Regions from separate parts of the Homo sapiens genome. Here region 1 is linked to region 2. Evidence: promoter capture Hi-C in 16 types of primary human blood cells and fetal thymus (Javierre and others, 2016). All regions are on one chromosome and are shown on one strand. The core of a region is centred on a gene start or on the middle of the fragment in contact, and the rest is flanking DNA. Distances in the headings are between cores, read along the strand shown.

Region 1 (6,538 bases), core at 943-3,442, 240 kb before region 2:
AGAATTAGAAACACAGCTTTCTCATTTATAATATAACCAAGTCGCGTAAGATAATCTCTAATTTTCTTTCCCTCTCTAAAATGTTATGACTTTTAATGCTATATAATATATCCAGATTTATAGTGAATAAAGCACCTAACTATATGCCGGGCACTAAGCTAGGCATTTTCATGAATGCTATTTGGTAATAGTTGACTACCAGTGTGATTGGAGATGCTGTTACATGCACTGACAATTTAATATTGTGAGGATTTCAACCACCAATTCAACTATATTCTGAATATATTGTATATGCATTTCTCTGATGTTCGCGGCTGAGTTCTTGGTTAAATAAAACAAATGTAAAAACATGGCATGTAATTGTTTGCTTTATTGCTTTCTGTTTTGGAAAAAATAATAAGCAACACTAACAAATGACTTTGGAACCACAGTGATTTTTCTTTTGTCATTGACCTCTTGCGGAACAATAAATTGTATATAATACATTTTTTTCTTCTAACATAACAATTCTCTCAACCTTACAGATTTCAAGGGAGTAGGAGGAAGGAGGGAGTGAAGAGGACAAAAAGAATTCTTTCTATTGAAAAGGGGATGTGGCCAGGCGCACACACTTGTAATCCTAGTACTTTGGGAGGCTGAGGCTCAGGAGTTCGAGACCAGCCTGGCTAACATGGTGAAAGCCCGTCTCTACTAAAAATACAAAAATTAGCCAGGCGTGGTAGTTCGTGCCTGTAATCCCAGCTACCCGGGAGGCTGAGGCAGGAGAATCACTGGAACCTGGGAGACAGAGGTTTCAGTGAGTCGAGATCACACCACTGTACTCCAGCTTGGGCAACAGAGTGAGACTCTATCAAAAAAAAAAAAAAAAAGAGAGAGAGAGAGATGTTTGTAAGAGGCCCACAGAAGTTCTCAGCACCAGACCAGGTGTGGTGGCTTATGCCACCGTGCGGTAGGAGGCAGGAGGGAGTGAATAGGACAAAAGGATTCTTTCTATTGAAAAGGAGATGTTTGTCTATTAATATAATCCCAGCACTTTGGGAGGCCGAGGCAAGAGGATCAGTTGAGCCCAGGAGTTTGAGACCAGCCTGGGCAACATAGGGAGACCCCATCTCTATAAAAATATATTTAAAAAAAAAAAGAAAGGAAAAAAGTTCTCAGCACTGTTGAAGAGAGAAATGAGCCATCCTCGAGTCATTCTGTCTACTCTTGTTGAAGCTTCCCTGGGTACCACAGCTTAAGTGGCCCACCTGAGAGGTGGCTCCTGATATACCAGCTGTTTATTAACTATGTCAGTAATGGTGATTTCTGACTCCAAAACAAACTACTCAAAATTTTACTTTAGTTTTGAAAAGTAGTGTTCCTATGGTGAGTAGTCAGCTGAACCATTTTAAAGGCCCACCCTTCAGGGTTTTGCTGTAGTAGGTTATTCCTTGTAATGAAAACAATTTTCTTGAAAATTAATTAATCGTGATGTTTTAAATCTTGTTTTGTAAGTATGCCTTTGTTTCTTTAAAGCCCTCATCATGAAGGCCTCGTCTCTTTTCTCAGTCATCACTATGGCAAACTTTAACAAGTTAGTTAGAATTTACAAAACTGTGGCAAAAACACTGTTAGTTACTTCAGAAAGTAAAGAATGGGAATGCATGACTTTTTCAAGTTCCCTTTACATAGCACGTTGTATGCCTTTCAGCAAAAATGAAAATAATAATAATAATACATTGAAATAGGTAATATTCCATTTATTAAAGTTATACATTCACAAAATTTGTTTCTCCTTAAATTGAAGTTAAGCTTATAAATATTATTGTTCTGTTTTTTAGGTTAGCAAATTTTAGTGATCTCTTTTTAAAAGCTTTGGTTTACCATTTGGTCCCCTTTATGAATGTACTAAATAAACATCTTGAAACAGCCTATGTAACTTAATTTATTTTCCATGCACTTCAATTAACTGACAAAATTTAATAATTCTTCTAAGTCTAATGAATTAAAGTTAAAATGCTGTGAACCTTAAGTTATCTTAAAAATTCTGGCTGGGTGCAGTGGCTCAAGCGTGTAATCCCAGCACTTCGGGAGGCCAAGGAGGGCGGATCACGAGGTCAGGAGTTTGAGACCAGCCTAGCCAACATGGTGAAACCATGTCTCTACTAAAAATACAAAAAAAAAAAAAAAAAAAAAAAAGGCTGAGTGTGGTGGCAGGCGCCTGTAATCCCGGCTACTCGGGAGGCTGAGGCAGGAGAATTGTTTGAACCTGGGAGGCGGAGGTTGCAGTCAGCCGAGATCACACCACTGCACTCTAGCCTGGGCGACAGGGCGAGACTCTGTCTCAAAAAAAAAAAAAAAAAAATTCCAGCCCTGTATATAAATAAGCAAAACATGATTCCAAATCATTAGAAATATACGGCTGTCCTGTTTCACCAGCAGACCAGCTTCTCTTTCATCACCAATACATAAAATAATAAGGAAGTACAAATTTTAAAATCAAAAATATCAATACCTTGATTTTGCTTCTTTTAAGTATTTTTGTACTTAATTCTAAGCTTTGTCAGGGCAAAAAGACACTTACTCACAAAGTAAATGATTACATCATCTCTCACAACTTTAGGAATTGCCTTCCCATCTATTTTGGGAATTGACTTCTCAGGAGGTTTGAGGTTGCGTTGTGAACTTGAGTCTCGCCTCAAATTAAACCCAGTTTAATAGTGAAGCCTGCCTTATACCTTACCACTATTGTTCATCTTTACTACCCTGCTCGACGTTTTCTTTTTGCTTATCTTTAACATGCTAGATAATTGATATTTGTGTTATACTTACTGTATACTGCCTGTCTTTCTCCATGAGAATGTCATCTCTATGAGGACAGGATTTTTTTTTTTTTTTTTTACAGAGTTTCGCTCTTGTTGCCCAGGCTGGAGTGCAATGGCACGATCTCGGCTCACTGCAACCTCCACCCCCTGGGTTCAAGTGATTCTTCTGCCTCAGCCTCCTGAGTAGCTGGGATTACAGGCATGAGCCACCACGCCTGGCTAATTTTGTATTTTTAGTAGAGATGGGGTTTCTCTATTTTGGTCAGGCTGGTCTCAAACTCCAAACCTCAGGTGATCCGCCCACCTCAACCTCCCAAAGTGCTGGGATTACAGGCATGAGCCACTGCGCCCAGCCAGGACAGGAATCTTTCTAGGGCTTTTGCTCTTTGACAGATGTTAAGCACCCAGAAACTGTTCCTAAATTATTTAGAAAATAGGCCAGGTGTGGTGGCTAATGCCTGTAATGTGCCAGTTGGAATTTTGCAATATCTATACATATGTAGGTACAGTATGTGTGTATGTACCTATATATGTATCTATACAGTGTGTAGCCTTTTCAGACTGGCTTCCTTCATTTAGTAAAATGTATTTATGTTTCTTCCATGTCTTAGTACCTTGATAGCTCATTTCTTTTTAGCACTGAATAATATTCCATTGTCTGTGTGTACCAAAGTTTATTTATCTATTTATCTACTGAAGAACATATTGCTTTCCTCCAAGCTTTAGTAATTATGAATAAAGCTGCTATAAACATCCTTGTGCAGGTTTTTTTGTGGTCATAAGTTTTCAACTTCTTTGGATAAATGTCAAGAAGTGTGATTGCTAGATGATATGGTAAAAGGATCTTAGTTTTTTAAGAAACTGCCAAACTGTCTTTCAAAGTGGCTGTACCATTTTGCATTCCCACCAGCAATGAATGAGAGTTCCTGTTGCTCCACATCCTCACCAGTATTTGGTGTCATCTCTCTTCTGGATTTTGGCCATTCTAATGGGTGTGTATGGTATTTCACCATTTTCTTCTTACAAAGAAAAAAAATCACCTATGACAGATAATAAGCCAATGCTTACTTTTTATATTAGTAATTGGATTTACAGAAGTTCAGGAAAGAAGAGGTTGGTATAGGGATTAGTGAATAAAGTTTCTTGGGAAAGGAACTAGAGCTCAACTAAAAATGTTTCATGCTGGCCAGGAGGGTTACAGGGTGCATGCCAGGCAAAGGCAGAAATGGAGACAAGCAGAGTGTGGAAGGAGAGATGAAGCCCATGTGTTCTTTAGACCAGCGGTCCCCTGCCTTTTTGGCACCAGGGAGGTTGCAGTGGTCATAAGTTTTTTTTGCGGTCATAAGTTTTCAACTTCTTTGGATAAATGTCAAGAAGTGTGATTGCTAGATGATATGGTAAAAGGATGCACAATTGGAAAAATTGTGTGTTGGGGTTGGGGGTTAGATGGTTTCAGGATGAAACTGTTCCACCTCAGATCAGGCATTAGATTCTTAAAAAGAGTGTGCAACCTAGGTCCCTCACATGCACAACTCACAATAGGGTTGGCGCTCCTGCGAGAATCTAATGTGGCCGCTAATCTGACAGGAGGTGGAGTTCAGGCAGTAATGCTTGCTGGCCCACAGCTCATCTCCTGCGGTGCAGTCTATTTGGTTCCTAACAGGCCACGGACCAGTCCCAGTCTGTGTGGCCTGGGGTTTGGGCACGCCTGCTATAGACAATGGACAGATGTACCGAAAAGAGTAGAAGGTTGTATATTGGCCGATAAATTTTGTAATACCAGCTATCTTGCAGAAAGTATTTCCCACGTGCCAGCTACTGTGCTAAACACTTTATCTGCTTTACCTGTATAATCACATTTAATTCCCATGGCATTTTTTTAACTTTTTACTTTTACATAACCTTAAACTTAGAGGAAGTTGCAAAGAGAGTACAAAAATTTCCTAAATATTCTTTAGCTAGATTCTCCAAATGTTAAAATTTTATCACATTTGGGCCAGGTTCAGTGGCTTATGCCTATAATCCCAGCACTTTGGGAGGCTGAGGCAGGAGGATCACTTGAGTCCAGGAGCTCGAGGCCAGCCTGGGCAACAAAGTGAGACCCTGTCTCCGCAAAAAATGGAGAAATTAAAAAAAAATTTTTTTTAATTAAAATTTTTATCACATATGCTTTATCATAGTCTCCCTCCTTTTTCTTTCTCTATGTGTGTTGTGCAAACATCTGTGTGCATAAATTTTTGCTGAACCATTTGCAAGTAAGTAGCCAAGGACATCTTACCACTTTACCCCTAAATATGTCCATGTATATTTTCTAAAACACAATGTACAGCAACCACTGTACGATGATGAAAACTGAGAAATCAACACTGGCATAGTTCTGTTATCTAATCTACAGATTTTATTCCAGTTTTGTCAGTGGTTCCCTTTATGTCCTTTATAGTTGTTGTTGTTTTAATATTTTCTACTGCTGCAAGGTCCAGGTTGCACTTGGTCTTCATTTCTCTTTAGCCTCCTCTATATCAGTACAATCCCTCAGTGCTTGTCATTTATGACACTGACATTTTTGAATGACATGGGACATTCTTTTTTGGATCTCCCTTAATTTGAGTTTGCCTGATGCTTTTATTTATTTATTTTTTTTGAGACGGAGTTTCGCTCTGTCGCCCAGGCTGGAGTGCAGTGGCGCGATGTCGACTCACTGCAAGCTCCGCCTCCCGGGTTCACGCCATTCTCCTGCCTCAGCCTCCCGTGTAGCTGGGACTACAGGCGCGCGCCACCATGCCCGGCTAATTTTTGTATTTTTAGTAGAGACGGGGTTTCACCGTGTTAGCCAGGATGGTCTCGATCTCCTGACCTCGTGATCCGCCCGTCTCGGCCTCCCAAAGTGCTGGGATTACAGGCGTGAGCCACTGCACCTGGCCCTGATGCTTCTTTATGATTAGATTCAGGCACGTGCTTTCTAGGCAAGAATACCTGCAAGATGACATTTTGCCCATCTCAGCGCATCTCAACAGAAAGCGTGTGATTTTTTTCTCTCCCATTGCGGATGGTGTTCACTTTAATCATCTACGAAGTAGTACTGGCAGATTTCTCCACTGTAGTTTCTACTTTTCCCATTTTAATTAGTTAGTATCTTGTTGAGAGATATTTCTCATCAAATTCTCACCATTCAAACCATGATTTTAGCATCCATTGATGATTTTCTGCCCGAATCAGTTGTTACTGTGGTGATTGCCAAATGGTTCCTTTTCTAATCCCATTATTTCTTCTAAGTTTATTGGTTGGCATTCTACTGTAGGGAAGAGCTTTCCCTTCTCTCCCACTGATTCGTACATTTATATCACTATAGACTCATGAATTCCTATTTTGTTCCATTGTTTACTCTCCATTACCATCATCATTTATTTTGATACTCAAATTATCCCAAATTTGGCTGGTGAGGGCTCTTTCCAGCCAGCTCCTGTTCTTTTGACATGCCCACAACATTATCTGAGCACTTCCTCGCCTATGGCATGGCAAGAGTCTAGGCTCATTTAGTACTTTCCCCATCCCAGCCTTGGAATCAACCTGAGAGAGCTACCGTTTTGTTGTTGTTGTTTTTTAACATGGTAGAGTTTTAAGTCAGGTACTGTCATCGTTCCTATTTTATAAATGAAAAAGAGAAACTCAGGAAGCTGGATATGTGGTTAGAGATAACAGAAGAATGAAGGCAACTCAATAACATTTTGCTACCA
Region 2 (6,837 bases), core at 2,796-5,295:
AAAAACTTAATAGATGGGAAAAACTCTGGATTGGACAAATTATTTAGAAGACTGGCAAATTGGAAGGCAAGGAATTCACCAGGATGCAACACAAAGACAAAATCTTTTTTTAAAAAAATAACATCTCAGGATATAGATAGTGAGGCTTCCTCACTTACCTAATGGTAGTGCCAGAAAAGATAATGGAGGTAATGGCTAGGAAGCAATATTGCAAGAGAAAATCAGTAATAATTTTCCAGAATTAAAGAAAGCATATGCACCCCTGTAATCCCAGCACTTTGGGAAGCCAAGGCGGGAGGATTGCTTGAGCTCAGGAGTCTGAGATCAGCCTGGGCAACATAGTGAGACCCTGTCTCTACAAAAAATTTTTTAAAAATTAGCTGGGCATGGTGGCTCATGCTTGTAGTCCAGCTTGAGTATGGGAGGTCAAGGTTGTAGTGAGCTTTGATCACACCACTGCACTCCAACCTGGGTGACGTAGTGAGACACTGTCTCAAAGAAAAAAAAAAAAAGTACCTCCTCCTTTTGCAGAGGATAAAGATAAACTAACACCAAGACAGTTCTAGAAAACCTGCTGGACAGTAAAAATAAACAAAACAAATCTGAAATGTTATCAAAGAGAAAAGGCAGCTTATTTATAAGGGAATGAAAATTAGATTGGCAGTAGAATTTTTAACCAGCAACACTTAGTACCAGAAGACAGTGGAGTACTATCATCAGTGTGGTGTGGGAAAATAACTGTTCACTAGAATTTTATATCCAAATAAATCATCATACAACAGTGAGGGCAAAATTAAGACATTTCCAACAATGAATTCCCTCCCATACCAAGGCACCTACAGAAAGAACTATTAAAGGATGGACTTCAGCCAGAAGAAAAGTGAACCCAAAGGGAACACTGTAGATTCAAGAAAAAGAAATAGCAGAAAAATTGATAAAATGTCATAAATTTAATTAACTTTTAACTATAAAAACTATTTTTAAATTTAAGAAGTAAAAACAGATTGAATGCGGTGGCACATGCCTGAGCTTTGGAAGGTTGAGGCGGGAGGATTGCTTGAAGCCAGGAGTTCGAGACCAGCTTGGGCAACATGGTGAGACTCTATTTCTACAAAAAATTTTTGAAAAAGAAAATATTAGCTGGGGGTGGTGGTGTGGACCTGTTCCTAGCTACTTGGGAGTCTGAGGTGGGAGGATTGCTTGAGGCCAGGAGCTTGAGGCTCCAGTCAGCCATGACTGTGCCACTACACTCCAGCCTGGGTAACAGAGCAAGACCCTGTCTCTTAAACAAACGAACAAAAAAGTAAAAATAAAACTCTAGGCAGCAATAAAAAGATGGGAAGGAAGGGGCTGTTAAATGAGTAAAATATACAAAGTTCTTTCATGGGAAGAAACAATTACATACTAACTTTGTTAGCAAAAAAATCAGAGTTAAGTATGTATGTTGAAAAAATAAAAGACGATTCTGAGAAGAATAGAAATAAAACCTAAAGCTCTCAAACCAGCAGTGGAATATGTATCACTTTACTAATCTGATAGAAGGCAAGAATGGAAGAAAAAGAAGCAAGGAGAAAGAATGGTAAATGAAAAACACAAGATCTGATGGAAGAAGAGCCCAAATATATTAGTAATCGCAATAAATCCCTGTGGATTAAATTCATCTGTCAGAGACACAACCAAAATAAAACTCATAGAAAGATTAAATATGAAGGACAATATTTCACATACAAATAGTAGCCAAAAGAATGGTGGCCTATTAATAACAAAAACTTCTAATTTAAGCAATTAGCATAAAAATGGTAAACAGACGCACTACATAAGGATCAATTGCGATTTCTAATGCAGAATATACTTTAAGAAACACTGCCTACTGTGTGCCAAGAATCATGTATGCCTTCTATACTGCTGTGTTTTCAGTGCTTGGCACATAATAGGTGTGCCATAAATATTAATGAGTGGAATGATTGCTATTTTATATTGAAATGATCTGTTTATGTGTTTGTCATACCACAAGGGCAAGACCATATCTTACTAATTGTTATGCCATCAACATTCAGCATAGCAGCTGGCACATAGTAGGAATTCCATAAGTCCACACTGAATTCAAGGATCATCTCTTCCATAAAATCTCCCCTCACTGTTCCTCCCATACTGATTTGTCCTTTGTTTCTACTTCTATAGCACTCGTAATTGGAAACACCCAATTTAGCACCCAAGACATAGTATAGTCTTCTAGCTTTCACTCAATATTTCAAATCTTGTTTCTTTAAAACTATTTTAGATTCTTTGAAGATAGAGAAGATGCCTTGCACTGTGCCAAGTGCCTTTTCAGGTACTTGAATAAATACATGTTTTGGTTGATGTCACTATTTACATGAATGTAGGTTAGATCAATAGTACCAGCTATACATGTCAAGAACGCTAAGGGCTATCTCCAGTCTCTTTTTTCATTCCTTGACCAAAGAGAGCCCTGTTTGGAGACAGGCTCACGTGCAAAGAATGTGAAGTTAATGAGACAGGTGGGAGAAGGCGGCTAGTGTTCAATTCCAAGCCCCTGTGCTCTATTCCTCCTGGCAAAATAGTGAGGTTGGCGGGACAGGGGGAGGGGAATGTCTGTGATCCCACAAAAAAATGTGTGGGAAGTGAGAGGGAGATGGTGAGGAAAGAGAGCATGTTCCAGACGCTACAGGACAGACCTGGACCTGACCTCTCCCTGGCGGGCATGGCACCAGGAGTTTATTATGAGACCGAAAGGAAACCCCAAGGCAAACAGCTAAATTCATCCACTTGAAACCTTGTATAGGAGACAGTGAGGGATGTTGTTTTCCATCTAGACAAGGCACAGAGGGGAGTCTGTGACAAGGAGCTTCTAATTGGGGAGCTGCAGAGGGTTAACAAAGAGCACTGGTGGCATCTTTTTGCTGGTCTTCTTGAAAAAGACATAGTCTGGGAAGGTTCAATCAGAGCCCCCTGCACGAGGTAAGGAGGTGGGCTGGCTGACTTCCCTAGGTCCTTCCTAATCCCATAGTTATTTGGTGAATCGTGCTCTTCCCCATTTATGCTCCTACACACGTCTGCACCCAGTTTGATAGTAAGTCCCCTAGGCTGCATTCCAGGTTTAGTACGGTGCCACGCAAGCTGCTGGCACTCAACAAATGACGCAAATATTTGTTGAATGAAGGAATAAATGGATCAAGTGTTTAAATAGAGCCCACATGACCTCCCCAGCTGTAAAGTATGGCAGTTGAATGAAATCACAACATTCTAGGCACTTGAGCAAAGCTGGCGGGGACACACACACACACACGATTCACATTCCCACCTTGGAAAAGCACAGACCACCTGCCCAGCCAGCAGGCTGTGGGAGTTTCCTTGGCAAGGATCCTCTTTCTCTGCTGCTTTAGGATGGTGCCTCTAGAAGGTCAAGTCACCCAGATTTAGGACCGCTTCCCTTCCCGGTTGGCCTCCGAGACAAAGTTTCTGTCTGGATTTGGCCCGGGCCTCCCGGGAGGCGCATCCGCACTGACTCCCGGCTCGGGCGCCCCGGGCGTGCAGCTCGCTGGCCCGCTGCGCCCCACCTTACCTTGGTGAGCTGGGCGATCTTCTTGCACATTTTCACGTGCATCTGGGGATCACAGTCCATTCTCCAGCCGGCGCCACCGTCGGCTTTGGAGCCCTGGCAAGTGCCGGGCGGGTTAATTTTGCTGTTGAGAGCAGAAGCCATCGCTAAAACGCGCCCAGCACTCAGACTCTCTCGTTTTCTCCCTGCCCACCGTGTGCACGTGCGTGCGCGCGCGGGCGTGCGAGCGTGTGGGTTTCTCGGGAGAGGTGGCACTGCAGTCCCGTCGCCTGCACCGCCGCGTGGCCCCAGCTTCCCGAAGGTCTCCGCCTCCCGGGCCCACCCGCGCGCCCACCCTTTTTCCTCTCCTGCTGGTTCTCTGGCTGGCTGGCTCCGCGGGCACCCGCACCCTGCGGCGAGGCGTCGGCGCCCCGCACGTGCCGCTGGCGATCAGTCTGCAGTTCCCCAGCCAGTGCAGGTTTCGTGTGCAAGGGGAGAGCTTCCGCGGCTAGGAGCTGCCGGCCTTGGGGGGTTTGCGGTGGGCGGGCACTGCGCTCTTGGACACGTGGGTGGCGCGCGGCCCTGGACTTGGTGGCGACGGACCCTGCCCGAGGTGGGGATCCCAGGCTAAAGAGGAAGAAGAGCCTCCGGAGAGGGACAGGGCACAGTGACTGGCGGCCTCCGGAGAGGGACAGGGCACAGTGACTGGCGGCTCCCGAGTCTCCGAGCTGATAGCGGAGATGGCGGTGGGGGACGAGATGCTAAGAGAGGGGCGGGTAGGTGAGGGCGAGCCATCGGGACTCAAGGAGGTGTGGGATCCGGGGCGCACGGTGTGGGCCAGCGCCTGAGTTGCGCGAGTGCACAGCGGGGCTGGGGATGGTAGCCTTCCTTTTTGGATCTTGGAGAGGAGCCAGGACATTGCGGGAGGAATACCGGAGATGCCCAAAGAGGAGAAGCCAAGGGGATGGCAGGGTGCGGGTGACCGAAATCTGAGATGAGAAAGTGCGAAACGGGTAATGCGGGAAGCGGTAGGAACGCAAAGACAAAGTCGTTAGGGAGGTAGAAAGGATGGTGGCAGGTGCGGGAAAGGAAGAAGCAAAGAGGAATGGAGCAGTTAGATGAGTAAAAGATGGAACTGAAAATCTTAGCAAACCGAGCCCATTGAAAGTAAAGTGAGTCGTCCAAATCCACACTACTGGCCTTGGGCAGACTGGAGCCAGACTGTCAAGTTTTCGGATTCTGAGCTGGTGTCTGTTTAGTGTTTGGTGAGGGGAGAGGTTAGCGGGCCAAATTTCTTTCTGGCGTGTTCTCTGGTTTCAGACAGTGGACTTTAAGGGAAAGTGACAGCACCGTGATCAGCTTTTCCTAAAGCTCGAATAATAGGTCTTCATGATAGTTTGCATAGTGAATGTATATCATTTATACATTGCCTTTTATCAGAAATTTTAATAATCTTCATAAACCAAGCAAGCTTCAAAGGGTCTCAGAAACCACAGTTCCACCCATCCATACTGAAGGTAACAAAACCCATTTTTGTCGATGAGGAAAATTGACCCAGAAAATTTGTACCAAGTCAGGCAATTACAAGTAGAACTGTTTCTGAAATAGACATTCCTATTCTAGATTCTGTATCAAATGACCGGCCTCGGTTTTTGATTTCTAATTTACCATCTTAAGTTCTCTTTTTAGCACAACCCCTCCCTCCCCCAGTTCCTTTAGAAAACAGAGACAAAGCCTCTGAGGATGGGGGTCAGGGGGTCAGGAATCCACATTAAACAGCTCTCTGCTTAATTCCAAATTGTGTATTTAGAATATTTTCTGCAGGATCTTAATATATACTAAATTTTACAGGAATTCAACCACTGTGTAAACTAGAGGAAAATTAGCCTTTTTGGTCAAGAACTTTACTAAAAGTTGTTGACCATTTTGGAAAATCACATCAAGGGCCAGGTGGCTCATGATATTTGGTTGCCAATACAACACACTTATTTATTTATTTTTTTTATTTTTTTGAGACAGAGTTTTGCTCTGTCACCCAGGCTGGAGTGCAGTGGCATGATCTCGGCTTACTGCAACTTCTACTTCCTGAGTTTAAGCCATTCTTGTGCCTCAGCCTCCAGAGTAGCTGGGATAACAGGCATGCACCACCACGCCCGACTAATTTTTGCATTTTTAGTAGAGATGGGGTTTCTCCATGTTGGCCAAGTTGGTCTCAAATTCCTGGCCTTGAGTGATCCTCCCACCTAGGCCTCCCAAAGTACTGGAATTACAGGTGTGAGCCACCGTGCCTGGCCACAACACACTTCTAACTGCCATATTGATGGTGAGTCTACCTATGCAAGCATCTGATTACTACACTGTGTCCCTCAGTATCAACAGGGGATTGGTTCCAGTACCCCTTCAGATACCAAAATCCATGGATGTTCAAGTCACTTACATAAAATGGTGTAACGTTTGCATATAACCTACTCACATCCTCTCGTATGCATTAAATCATCTCTATATTACTTGTAATACCTAATACAACGTAAATGTTATGTAATTAGTTGTTACACTGTATTGTTTAGGGAATAAAAAAATAGGCTGTATATGTATACAGTACAGATGCAACCATCAATTTTTTTTCCTCAAATGTTTTTGACTTGTGGTTAGTTGACTTTGAGGATGTGGAACACATTGATATGGAGGGCCAACTGTACATATTATTTAATTATAATGAAATATCAAGAATCAAATGTCAAAAAAATCAAAGTCAAGAAATTATGCAGATTTAAAAAGGTGTGTATTATCTATGAATTTCAAGATAGTAACGTGGATGTTATAAAAAGGGTGATGTTGGATCTGAAAAGAATTGAAAGCCATTGCTCTAGATGATCTTATACACACTAAAGTTTAGAAAAACTGCAAGTCTAACCCCAAGTTTTAGTTTTTTAATAATGATTTCATTAGGTCTTGGGGCTAAAAAATGTTCCAGTAGGAAATATTATACTTTCAACTTTACAATGGAAGACAACGGGAAAATCAGATTCCTTTATCAGCTTTGTTGGCCCACAGCTGCTGTAATCAAGGCACCATGAGCCGACCTGTTTTGGAGAGCCCTCTGCAGCTCCTAGGATTTTCCAGCACTGGGATTAGTAGGTCCCTTTACACCATCAGGAATGAAATTGAGGGCAGAAGAGAATTAAGTACTATATCAAATGTGGAGGTGGAAGTACATTTATTAGGCCACTAATGTCATATTGGCACTGTGCTAAGCCCGTAGCACATGTTTTGACCTT

Evidence for each region. Contacts are between HindIII fragments. The CHiCAGO score rates a contact against its expected background, and 5 or more counts as called.
Region 1: a contact is called between a fragment that was not itself captured here and the fragment with the promoter of FAM184B in region 2, in 1 of 17 cell types (megakaryocytes). The highest score is 5.8, in megakaryocytes.

Annotation. Positions count from the first base shown.
Region 1 is chr4:17,536,343-17,542,880 of GRCh38, forward strand. No RefSeq gene overlaps it. Among named protein-coding and RNA genes, the nearest start is that of CLRN2, 24 kb to the left of the region's middle. The HindIII fragment of the contact is 685 bases long and covers 1,851-2,535 here.
Region 2 is chr4:17,777,576-17,784,412 of GRCh38, forward strand. FAM184B (family with sequence similarity 184 member B) reads right to left here and starts at 4,046. Exons shown (of 18, transcript NM_015688.2): 1 at 3,584-4,046. The coding sequence starts at 3,724. The HindIII fragment of the contact is 8,098 bases long and covers 1-5,028 here.